2 separate regions of the Homo sapiens genome follow, and region 1 is linked to region 2. Evidence: promoter capture Hi-C in human tissues and cell types (Jung and others, 2019). All regions are on one chromosome and are shown on one strand. The core of a region is centred on a gene start or on the middle of the fragment in contact, and the rest is flanking DNA. Distances in the headings are between cores, read along the strand shown.

The links. Contacts are between HindIII fragments. The study calls those that stand out against the background at their distance.
Region 1: a contact is called between the fragment with the promoter of C19orf18 here and the fragment with the promoter of ZNF667 in region 2, in 1 of the 25 tissues and cell types used here (dorsolateral prefrontal cortex).

What each region holds. Positions count from the first base shown.
Region 1 is chr19:57,970,892-57,977,149 of GRCh38, forward strand. C19orf18 (chromosome 19 open reading frame 18) reads right to left here and starts at 3,643. Exons shown (of 6, transcript NM_152474.5): 1 at 3,421-3,643; 2 at 3,208-3,312; 3 at 1,572-1,613. The coding sequence starts at 3,541. It overlaps ZNF606 (zinc finger protein 606), which reads right to left. Exons shown (of 7, transcript NM_001348022.3): 7 at 6,185-6,258. The HindIII fragment of the contact is 10,862 bases long and covers 1-6,258 here.
Region 2 is chr19:56,474,403-56,481,022 of GRCh38, forward strand. ZNF667 (zinc finger protein 667) reads right to left here and starts at 2,943. Exons shown (of 7, transcript NM_001321356.2): 1 at 2,870-2,943. ZNF667-AS1 (ZNF667 antisense RNA 1) reads left to right here and starts at 3,472. Exons shown (of 2, transcript NR_036521.1): 1 at 3,472-3,979. The HindIII fragment of the contact is 11,770 bases long and covers 1-6,078 here.

The DNA.
Region 1 (6,258 bases), core at 2,393-4,892, 1.5 Mb after region 2:
CCCGTCTCTATCCTACCTACAACTGGGACCTGAAGCTCAGGGGTGGCAGAGGTCTCAGTGACCTTCTAGCACCAGCACACAAAACGAGCTAGTGTCAAAAGAAGGACCAGTGTGCAGGCCTTTGATACCCCAGCCAGGACTCAAGCTCTGTGCTTTGGTGATGGTGGTGTCAATGGGCAGGTGAAACAGTCATAGCTGAGCTTTAGGAAGATTGATAATGTGTTTGGCGTGGATGGATGTATTCATCACGTTTTTTATTTTCTGTATTTCCTGATACTTTGACATCTTGGGGCCTTAACTGACCCTTGAAGAGACTGCCCTCCCAGGTCCAGCCAATTCCTGAAGATAGTAAACCCTGGCCTGCAAGTGCACCTTTCATGTGCAAGCCGACACACCCAAAGCCTACACCCCAACAATCTCTATGGAGCCCTCATGCTCCAGGCCACCATCCCCTGCCCCCAACCACCCCAGGGCCAGGTCCCAGACAACCAGGGACATACCCCATGCCCCACAGCCACCAAATCACTCAAGCTGATCCCAAGCCCGCCTTCCCTACCTGCCTTCCTGTAAAAACCAGAATAAAGTTGTTTTTTTTAAAAAAGACAGCCTCGCTCTGTTGCCCAGGCTAGAGTGCAGCGACCCAATCTCAGCTCACTGCAACCTCCACCTCCCAGGTTCATGCGATTCTCCCGCCTCAGCCTCCCAAATAGCTGGGATTACAGGTGCCCACCACCACTCCTGGCTAATTTTTGTATTTTTAGTAGAGATGGGGTTTCACCATGTTAGCCAAGCTGGTCTCGAACTCGTGACCTCAAGTGATTCATCCACCTCGGCCTTCCTAAGTGCTGGGATTACAGGGATGAGCCACCGCACCCGGCCCAGAATAAAGGCTTTTGCTCACACTTTCCTGGCTCCCTTTGCCTTCTGATAGACCCTGGTGCTTCCTTGTGTGGACTCCTGCTTCTAGGGACCCGTGAGTATCAGGCTTCTTCCTTCATGACAGTCATTTCTGTGTCTGCATGTCTCACTCAGCATATGTGATTAAATAAAATGCTGGCTACATGTGAAAGCAGTGGAGATGGGTAGGTGGTGGGGGAGCTGACTCAGAAGCCGCCCTGTTGCAGGCACTTAGCAAATGTGCAGAGGAGAAGGAAGGATGCTCTGGGGCGGGAGCAGCAGCAGGACACAAGGTGCCTTCTGCTTTGGAGGACTCTGAAGCGAGAGGTGTTGAGGAGGTTCCAGGACAAGCCACAGTGGGGAGAGTTGCTAGAAAGGCTGCTGACAGGGCCGCTGTGTGTGCCCATGCATTTTGTGTGTTCCACAAAGAGATCTCAGACACAGCCTGTGCTCTACTCACTACAACATCAGCCCGTGGAGTTGAGCCACCTTCTCACCTGCCCCAAGCGGTGTCACTGCGCATCCCCCTCCAGAGGGGGCACCTTGTCTAACACACATGAAGGCACCACGTGTGCAGGCTCCTTGGTGACCAGCCAGCACCCTCTGGAGCCACACATCACGACAGCTTCAGGAATGTTGCGGGTCCACCCGCCCTCCCAGATCCCTTGGCTTACCTTTATTCCTCAGGAATTTCATGGGGTTCGTAGGGGATGCAGCTAAAAGGCCATCAAAGGGGATCAAAAAGAAGAGACTTTAAGATGGTTTAAGATGAACTTGGGAAAACAAGGAAATAACTTAGCATTAGAGAAGGACGCCGAACACACAGCTTCCAAATATCTAAGATGGGATGTGTTAATACATTCCTCCCAATGCCTGGCAGCAATGTGTGGGTTAATTTGCAGAAGCCTGGTGAGCCTGCTGTTCTTTTTGCACCTGGTGCTTCCTGTCATGAAGAATGACCTTTAGGAACAGGATACTTTTGGTTTCTGGTCTCCTTTTGCAGTCATACAAGTTGGGAAATCTCTGCCCAAATTAAGGACCTGGAGAGACTTAGAGTTGAAGGGGCTACGACCTCATTAGAAGGTCAGCAAGGGTTGGGCACAGTGGCTCATGCCTGTAATCCCAGCGAGGAAGGCAGATCACGAGGTCAGGAGTTCGAGACCAGCCTGACCAACATGGTGAAACCCCGTCTCTACTGAAAATACAAAAATTAGCTGGGCATGGTGGCACGCGCCTGTAGTCCCAGCTACTCAGGAGGCTGAGGCAGGAGAATTGCTTGAACCCGGCGGTGGAGGTTGTGGTGAGCCGAGATTGCGCCACTGCACTCCAGCTGGGTGACAGAGTGAGACTCCGTCTCAAAAAAAAAAAAAAAAAAAAAAAAAAAAAAAAAAAAAAAAGGATCAGAGAGCCAGGCAGAGAGGCCAGGGAACCAACAATAGTGTCCTTTCCTCGGACACAAATTACATGCAAATGTATCACACAGACAGCATTTCCCTTGCATGGAATGGAGATTATTTACAAGCATCATATATCTCCACAAAGGGTTGCTGAGCTTCAAAGATTGTCGGGGTTGGTTTTGCTGTTATAAGATAAACAAACATCCTCTAGTACTCAAATTAGAAGGGAACCATAGAAAATGCTTATAAAGAATTCTCGGCTGGGCATGGTGGCTCATGCCTGTAATCCCAGCACTTTGAGAGGCCGAGGCGGGCGGATCATGAGGTCAGGAGATCAAGACCATCCTGGCTAACACAGTGAAACCCTGTCTCTACTAAAAATACAAAAAATTAGCTTGGCGTGGTGGCGGGTGCCTGTAGTCCCAGCTACTTGGGAGGCTGAGGCAGGAGAATGGTGTGAACCCAGGAGGTGGAGCTTGCAGTGAGCCGAGATCGCGCCACTGCACTCCAGCCTGGGCGACAGAGCAAGACTCTGTCTCAAAAAAAAAAAAAAGAAAAAAAAGAATTCTGTACACTCACAAACCTTCTGTGTCTAGACTTGCATGCTCTACTGCCAAATGTGCACCAAATTCAAGTCAGACAGGCATACCTGTGTAATCTGGATGGGATCAAGGTTTTTGTGTGCGCTTATTAAAGTGAAATGAAAAAGAGAAGAAAGTGGCAATCCCTAAAGAGAAAGCAGTTAACAGAGAGTGAAGAGCATAAGATCTAATTTCCAAGCAAATGTTTATCTAATTATACTCTATTTTATGGACCTTTCTACCAGCAAGCACACAGTACACATTCACATGGCAGATAAGAGGACTCCAGGCTACGATTCTCACTCCACTGAATGAGGAATTCAATGACTCACCCGTGGATCTCGAGGCAGCCCCTTGAATCCCAGGCAACTGGGTTTTATGAAAGAACACTTTGGGCTCTTTGGTGATGTTTCTGGGTGGTTGTGACCGTTTACTGCCTTGAAAAGAAAACTTTTTGCGGTGAAATGTAATTACCTTCTTTTTATCTCCCCTGAAACAGCTTTTCAATTCTCCCTGAGTCACATAAAACCAGTGGTTGAAGCTACCTGGTAAGCCTGTTATGTTTCCAGTGGGATGGAGTCCATCTGCATACGGCAAGCATAAATGAAGTTGGCATTCCATTAAAAACAAAAACAAAATGAGGAAACCACTCTGAACCTTGTCCATCACTCTCAAATTATCAGTATTTTATCCCGTAGATGAAAGGAAATACTTAGCTACAGTCCAGCATCTGTCCTCTATTTATCTGAGGAATCAAGAAGTTCTACTCCCTTCAGAATGTTTGGGCAGTGACTTGGAGCCACCAGTGTGAGGTCAGTCCTTGCTGTGATAATGGAGTTCCTTCATGGAACCATGCTGACCAATGGGGAGACTACAGTGTAAGAGGGCAGTGCTTGGAGGTGCAGGCATGATGAGACCAGGTCCCTGCCTGCAGTGTGCAGATTAGTGAGGAGGCAGAAAGAAATCAATTACAGTCAGCCCTCCGCATGCATAGTTCCCCATCCGTGATTTCCAACAACCTCACTTGGAAAATGTTCAGGAAAAAAGGAATGGGCACGGTGGCTCACGCCTATGATCCCAACACTTTAGGAGGTCAAGGTGGGCAGATCGCTTGAGGCCAGGAGTTCAAGACCAGCCTGGCCAACACAGTGAAAGCCCATCTCTACTAAAAATACAAAAATTTGCTGGGCGTGGTGGTGCACACCTGTAGTTCAAGCTACTTGGGAGGCTGAGGCATGAGAATCACTTGAACCCAGGAGGTGGAGGTTGCAGTGAGCTGAGATCATGCCACTGCACTCCAGCCTGGGCGACAGAGCAAGACTCTGTCTCAAAAAAATAAAACAACAAACACAAAAACAAAAACTAGCCAGGCATGGTGGCGTGTACCTGTAGTCCCAGATACTCGGGAGGCTGAGGCAGGAAGATCACTTGAGCCCAGAAGGCAGAGGTAGCAGTGAGCCAAAATCGTACCACTGCACAAAGAAAGAAAGAAAAGAAAGTGGAAGGAAAGCAGTCACCCTTAGAAGGGAGGCAATGTGCACAGGGGAGACCCACAGCAGGAAGGTAAAGGGGGACTCCTGATGACTGAAAGTGGGCCCTAGGCTTCAGAGATGGGAGGAATAGAAGACGGGCTCAAAAAAGGCAATGAACTATGTCATGTATGAGGGAGACAGAGGGGACCTGGGAGTGCTGGATGTTAGGGACCACTGAAATCAATACTGTCCAGGCTGTGCATGATAGGTGAGAGGAAGGGAATACTTCCAGGAAGAAGCAGAAGTCTGGGACTTTCTTTTGACTCGTGATGTGACCTGACCAACAGGAGGCCCTTTTTTTTTTTTTTTTTTTTTTTTGAGATGGAGTCTTGCCCTGTCACCCACACTGGAGTGCAGTGGCACAATCTTGGCTCACTGCAACCTCCACCTCCTGGGTTCAAACGATTCTCCTGCCTCAGCCTCTGGAACCGCTGGGATTACAGGCATCTGCCACCACACCCAGCTAATTTTTGTATTTTTAGTAGAGATGGGCTTTCACCATGTTGGCGGCCAGGCCAGTCTCGAACTCCTGATCTCATGATTCACCCACCTTGGCCTCCCAAAGTGCTGGGGTGACAGGAGTGAGCCACTGTGCCCTGCCAGGAGGCCCTTTAAGACATTAAAAAAACTCTTATCTGTTTAAACAGAGATGGGATCTTGCTACGTTGCAAGGCTGGCCTTGAACTCCTCAGCTCAAGCAATCCTCCTGTCCCTCCCAAAATGCTGGCATGAGCCTCGGTGCCCGGCCTAGAAATTTTTTCAAGATAATAATCTTAGTAATAAGGTTATAAGTTACCAGGATGCTTGTGGTATATTGCATATGACTTATGAAATCCTTTGGAATCTCTAAATCAGATAATTTGGATTCACTCTGGCTATTAGAATACAATATCCACATCCTACTGGTAGTATGATTCTGGATATATTATGCTGCTTTCTCCAAGATGAGATAATACTGCTAACTTCATTCTCTCCAAGGGCCTTTGCACAAATCATGTAAAAAAAAAATCCATCAATAACTAACTTGCCCCTGCCACATTTATCAGGTGACCACTAATGTGTCAGGCCTTGAAAGGACTACAATCAAATGTTACACACCTAAGTGAGCCCAAGCTAGAAGAGTCAGAAGGTGAAAATAACAGCCTCCCAATGACATCACTAGGCCATCATTTCTCAACCACTGGGAAGCCATGGGCCCTTTAAAAATTAGATGAGCTTTATGAGCCCAAGTTCCACTCAATACCCTTGAAGCCTATCCAGGAAGGATCCTTGGCCCCCAGTTTTAGAAATACTTATGAACTGGAGAGAAGCCACCCAAGTCTTCTGATCCATCTTTCCCCTTTTCCCCTGTGAACACTGAGACTTCATTACTCTAGGTGGACTGGCTAGCTCTCTTCCCTTCTGAATCCTGCTCCTTCAAGTAAGCCTTTCATCTGCAGAAGATTTCAAAAAAATAAAAGACCGAATTCAAGGTAAACCTTGGGTAATGGTGCTCTGAAGTGCAGTGGTGTCTAGTTATGGAAAGGAACAAACACCCCTGCCCTCTGCTCTGTAAGTGGCATTCTAAACCCACCAAGGGACTTGCCCAGTCCTCCAGCAAGTCCTCCAGGCCCTGCTGCCCTGTTATCCTTGGGGTTGCAGGCAGCAAAGTTCTAGGGAACTCAGGTCCCAGAAAATGCAGTGATTCTGAATGTCCAACACAGACTTCATATTCCAAAGGGATACTAGTTCTCATGTTACTATAAATCCTTCGAGACAGAGAAACCAGGTAACTTTATTTCTCATTGTTTAGGATTTTCTTTTTATTATCAAATCTCTGCTATAGAAACACTGAAGAAAATGGGAAAAAAA
Region 2 (6,620 bases), core at 1,693-4,192:
AGGGACATACGTAGGCAATTTCTCCAAAGACGTCAGCACAGCTGTCACAGGAAGAACACAGGCTATGCATATGCATGTCTAGCCTGCCATTTCCCCACTTTGCCCGGGAACACATTAGGTTACCTCACTTGCAGGATGGGGCTAGGAATACCCCTACTGCAGGGAAGTGCAGCTGTGAGGACTGTTTTTGATAAGATAGCCAAGCAGAGGTCACTTGCATCCTCCCCCTGACTCCTCCAAATCAATTTATCTCATTCCCAGAGGCCCCAAAGGAGCCTGAGCTGCAGGCACTCAGAGCTGTAGCTCTTAACCCTGTGCGTACATTAGTCTCTTGGGAGCTTTCTAATAAATAGTCACAGCTGATGGCAGTTCACTATGCCAGACCAATTAAATCAGAATCTCTGGGGATTGAGTCTGACCCGCCCTTTTTTTTCTTTTTTTAAATAAAGCATTCCAAGGTGAGAGTAACATTGAAGGCATCGTTTAGAATAACGTTCGAGTCTCAGAGTCTCAAGGACAGGGCTAGAGATCTGACCTCTTTCTGTTGAAGTCCAGACCTCAGTGAAGAGAAAAGTCTTTGGTTAAGATCAAAGTCAAACTCTTAGATTCCCCAATCAAGTGATACCAAAGGGTCACTGCTGGTGGTCCTTCCTGGCTCTGGAGTTGACCAAAATGCCCATGGGAGACCTGGATGTTGACTCCAAAAAGAACACCTGCCAAACACCCTGTAATCCCTTTACCCTGCTTTACTTTTCAAAGTACCTATCAGCACCTATTATAGACTTTATTTTTGTCTCTCCTACTAAATGCAAGTTCCAGCTGAGTAAAAACCTTGCCTGTTTTGTTGAGAGACTAGCACAGTGCCCAATCCATGGTAGGCACTCACTGGCTGAATGAATGAATGCATCTCGGAGCTTACCCGGGCTGCAGGCCGTTTCTTCTCATCTCAGAACACTATCCTTTTATCATCTCTCCGTGCCCCGCCTTCCCCAGCTCCCTTACTCTTCTCCCTGTCATCATGCCTTCGGTCTGTCCATGCGCTTGCATCACGGTCCTCTCAATCAGAGTGATTTTGCCCCTGCAGGGGACATCTGACAGTGTCTGGAGACATTTTTTTTTCGCTTGTCACAACCCAGAGGGAGGCGCGGTGTGCTACTGGCCTGGTAAATAGAGCCCAGGGTTGCTGCACAACATCCTATAATACATAGAATAGCAGCCCCTCCCACCTCCCAACAAAAAACTATCTGGCCCCAAATGTCACAGTGCCAAGGCTGTGAAACACTGGTCTGGACAGAAACATTTCCAGACCCATGTGTTATATGGAAACATCCCTTAGTCCCTGACACTTCAAAGTTCTGTTCTTGACCCCATGGGCTCCCTAGGGACATCTCCATCAGGAAGATCCTTTGTTCCTGACCCCACCTCCTCTACCCTAATGCTGCCCTCCCAGGACCCTGCCTACACAATTCTGAACCTAAGCCCTGATCTAGACGTCCAAGTTATTTTACCTCTGGACCTGCAACCCTTACTCTGGGGCTCATCCTTTTGCATTTCTACCTATGGATTTTATTCTCCAGGTGTGGGACGCCTGCGGTTATTATGCTAATAATAAAACGATGATCATTGATGTGGCACTTCCTTGTGCCAAGTTCTACTTATGCTCACCATAAACCTGAGGTTGGTTCTGTTATTACTACTGTTTTACAAGTGAACCGAGGAGTGGTGGACTTAAGTAAGCTCTCTCAGTCACACAGCCAGCCAGTGGTGAAACCAGGAGTCAACACCAGACAGCGGGGCGCCACAGTCCATGCTCTTATTTTTCCAAGCTACCTTGGTAGGAAGGGGACACAACCATACTTAGCGTCAGTGGAGGGCTCTGTCCTCCACTCAAATGTACACATGCAGAAAACTGACGACGCAGGTGGTTGGCGGGGGCAGCGCACCACTGCTCAACTGGAGATGGTCAGATGCCCTGGTATGTGGACAAAGATAGCCCAGTCCGAAGCTCAGAGATGCAAAGTCCTCCAGTATTCACCACTACCTCTGCCTCTGTATAGGGTCAAAGAAAAACGACCACCAGCACCATAACCAACACCTAAACACGGTGATTAGTATGTGACAAGCTCTGTGCAGGGTGTTTCAGCTACGTCATCCCATTTAATCTTCCCAATAACACCCAGGCAGGTGCTATTAATATGCTATTTTACCAAGGAGGAAAGTCATGCACAATTAAACAGTTCCACAGATTTCCAGGGCAGCCCATCACATCTTAGAGCTGCTAAGAATTCTTCCCCTGTGGGCCTCCATTTCCATGGTTACAGTGAGATATACACCAGAAAGGCACAGTCACACACTCATAACCGCAAAGCCACTGACGCTAAGTGGCAGACAGACGCCCAGGCAAGTCACACAGTAACCCAAGGCTACAATAAACGCCCACATCAGCCTGACACTGACACACGCACACACTCCAGAAACACAAATCTTCACAGTCAGCGTCACACACCCACTCCCGGCTTCCCAATGGCTCCATTGTTTCCTTCGCGTGGGTCACGCAGCGATACACATCCGCGGTCCCGACATAGCTCCCTCACACACAGGCACACACGGCTCGCCTCACACGCGGCGCCAACTTCACACTTGGGCGCACAAGCCCCGAGAACCACAGCAGCGAAGGGCGCAAACCCCACGCCGTGGCGGGCCGAGAACCCACGCAGGCGCGAGCCCACCGCCCACGCAAGCACCCGCGCAGACGCCCACGCCATCGTGGATGCGCAAACCCACGCGCGCCTTGGCAGGAACGTCCACGCAGTGGCGGGCGCGCCGCCCACGCCCTCAGACACACCCACACTCTCGCCAGCCCCCTTACCTCGGTCTTCCCGGGCTCAGACCCCGGCGGCGACCACCGAGACAGCCGAGCAGGGACTCAGCGCCTGCGCACTCCCCTCCGGGACCCCGGGACCGCGCGCTGCACCCCCCTTCACACACGCACCACGCATGCGGGCGCGTGGCCCCGCCCCCAAACAAGGCCACGCGGCGTGCGCTCACCCGCCTCTCGGGGACAGTACCACCAGCCCCGGCCTGAGGCCCCGACCCCTCAGCGCCACACGCACAAGCGCGTTCGCACGATTGGTGCAGGCGGACGCGCGAGGTCCCGCGCCTGCGCACACCCCCGAGGCTGGCACGCACACCGGTCTCCTAGGGGACTGGCGCCTGGCCCTGCTTTTCATCCTCTCAGGAGATCACGTGTGGACACTGAGGCCCTTCCTCGAGCTCTTTAACCAAACCCAACCTCCCCAATTCGCCGCCTTCCCCGCTCCCACAACCACACGTTCCCGTGTGAGGGCTTATTGCCTCCAGCCAGCCAGCGTCCTTCGCCCCCACATTCACGAGGTTTGGAGCCGGCCTCACCCGCGGAGGCGGACACCGCCCACCCGCGCGTGCGCACTACGCAGTCATCCTGCGACCTCCAGAATCCACCGGGGTGCAGCGAGGCTGTGGAAAGTCCCACCCAGAACGTGAGGTGAAGAAGGCTTGGGCTGCGCTGGTTCTGCTCTGTCCGGGTCGGAGATGAACTGACCCGGGAGAGCAGCGGAGGGATGTTTCTTTTGGCCAACAGTGGGGACTCACCTGCACGTTTTGCGAAGAGGCCCACAGTCCTTTGCGTGGCGCTCGGACTACATTTCCCAACGGCCCCTGCACGCCCTGGGGGCTGTTCCATGCGGTGTTGCGCCTGCGTAGCCGGCGGGCTGGCAGTGAGACTGACTGCGTCGGGGTTGAGACTGGGTGGATGAGGCTCACCCCGGCGGGGAGAAGGGACGAGGAGGGGCGGACAGCGGAAGGTCCGGGAGTGTCCGCCATAAAGTCGTTTGAGGTGACCGTTGCGTAATTGTGAGTCTGTGAGAGAAGATGTGAAGTATGGCCTCGTCCCGGTCATCTGGGCGTGCGGGTCCCGGGTTTTGATCGCGCGTTTGTGTAGGTGAGACCCACATTGTGTTACCCTGAACATGTGTGAGGACGAACCTTTGTGTTTTCTTATACGTGTGTCTCTGAGGCGATTTTTGTGGTTTTGTACGTGGCGGGGGGCACTGATTTTGAATATGTGTGTATGTTCTGGACATTTGTTTAGCTTCTGCATCCACTTCTGCGGAAGGGCAGAGTTGAGTAGGTGGGAACAGGTACTGTGTGGCCCCACAAAGCCTGAACTATTTACTGTTGACTCTAGAGCCCAGTTTTTGCGGTGTGTACGTCTCTGTGGGGAACCACACATTTTGAATATGTATACTTGTGTATATTTACGTCTATTCTATGACTGCTTTTGCACAATGGCAGGGTTCAGTACTTGCAGCAGAGATCTTGTGGCCCATAAAGCCTAAAATACTATCCGACTAAGGTTTCGAGCCGTAGCCAGTTTTTGTGGATGAGTGTTGTGTGTGTGTGGGAAGCCAGTGATTGATTGATTGATTGATTGATTTGGGACGGAGTCTCGCTCTGTCGCCCAGGCTGGAGTGCAGTGGCGCGATCTCGGCTCACTGCAACCTCCGCCTCCAGGTTCAAGCCATTCTTCTGCCTCATCCTCCCTAGTAGCTGGGACTACAGGCGCCCGCCACCACGCCCGGCTAAGTTTTTTGTATTTTTAGTAGATTCGGGGTTTCACCATGTGGGCTCTTGACCTCGTGATCCGCCCGCCTCGGCCTCCCAAAGTGCTGGGATTACAGGCGTGAGCCACCGCGACCGGCCAAGGAAAGCCAGTGTTTTTGACTCTGTGTGTGTGTACCCGCCTGTGTGTTGAGACCCAGTTTTTGTAGTTGCATAGGTGGGTATATGTGTGAGGGGAACCCAGGGCCTGTGATTTCTTTCTTCCCAGGTGACTCTGAGCAAGTTTTGGGGACTAGGTAGTAGGGAGAATGTGTGAGGAACTAGTTTTGGTTTCCCATTTCTGTGATTAGGTAGTAGCAATAATAAAAATAAAAGCTAACAGATACTACTATTAGGACTTTTACCATTACCTCTGTGACTAGCAGCTAGCACTTACTGATTGTTGTCCCTGGTCAAAAGTGAATTTTTCCATTTAAGGTTTTCTTTAATCCTGTAAGCCGTTCTCTGAGTTGTTCCTTGGAGCAAGTTTCTTTCTAGACTGGAGATTGTTCTAAATACCTGGTAATACTAGAATAAGGGGTGTGGTCAAGAGATCCAAGAAATCTTAGGATAAATCTGTCACTTGGCAGTTTCTTTGTTTTCTTTAAACCACCTCCCAAGAAAGTATGTCATCCTTTCTGCTGTTTTAGGGGCATGTTAGTGCGAAAATCTGGGAAAAAGCTTTATGCCTCAGACTGTCCTAGTTCAGAGAAACCAGAGTGTGTGGGTCGGATGTCTTGGCTCCTGATCAGGCTCTGTTGTGCCCATTCTCCGAATAAAGCAACTATCTCCCAAGACACCCATGAGTTTTCTAAGACAGTTTGTCCCAGAGCCCAGGTCCAGAATCTAGTCCTGGTCTTGGATTTGGTCAGACCTTCCCTCACTCTCACCTCAGGACTCCCCACCACTTCCCCCCCTGCCCCAGGAACCCATGGGAATTACAGGCATAAATTAAATACCTGATCCTATGACAGCTCCAGAGTATCTGGAATCTTTTTTTTTTTTTTTTGAGACAGTGTCTTGCTCTGTCGCCCAGGCTGGAGTGCAGTGGCGTGATCTCTGCTCACTGCAAGCTCCGCCTCCTGGGTTCAGGCCATTCTTCTGCCTCAGCCTCCCGAGTAGCTGGGACTGCGAGTGTCCATCACCACACCCAGCTAATTTTTTTGTACTTTTAGTAGACACGGGGTTTCACCTTGTTAGCCATGATGGTTTCACTCTCCTGACTTCGTGATCTGCCCGCTTCAGCCTCCCAAAGTGCTGGGATTACAGGCGTGAGCCACCACGCCCAGCCCAAGATTTAATTTGTTAAAAAAAAAAAAAAAAAAAAAAAAAGTAGGGTAAAGACGCTAGAAAGTCTAGAGAGGAAGGAGGGATTATTTTACACAGGATGGTCAGGGGAGGCCACTTTGATAGGTGGCATTTAGCAGTGAGGCTTCCTGAACTCAGCATGACTGCTCCGCTTGGCTCAGATTCCAGCTCTGTCCACTGTAGTTGAGGAATTATCCCTAGACAGAGAATGGGGAGATAAAGAGGCTCAGCTTGTTAACAGGTTCCCCTCTCACATGAATCTTTTGTCCACTGCCTCAAAACTGCCCCGATATAGTTTAATTTCGTAGTATGCTATTGTGTCATGCTGCAACTCTTTCAGCTCCAAAAGGGATGGCACCAGGTTCAAGAGGCTGAAGAAGAGACTCAGATCCAGGAAATGAGGCATAGGTTATATGTGAGATGGAACTTACATACAGAGTGGTCCAGTGGTGGTAGGCTGAACAGGAGAACTGCCACCGCCTGCAGAAAGCATGGACTTTGTATAGCATTTTCACTTAATACTCTCCTCCTAACAGCATCCACATGGCAACCCTCATTTAACCCAAGACAAAGAGCCTCAGCCCCCATAGGGCCAGCGTTCCACAGGACAGGCCAGGGACTCATTTAACCCAAGACAAAGAGCCTTAATCCCCTATAGGGCCCACGTTCCACAG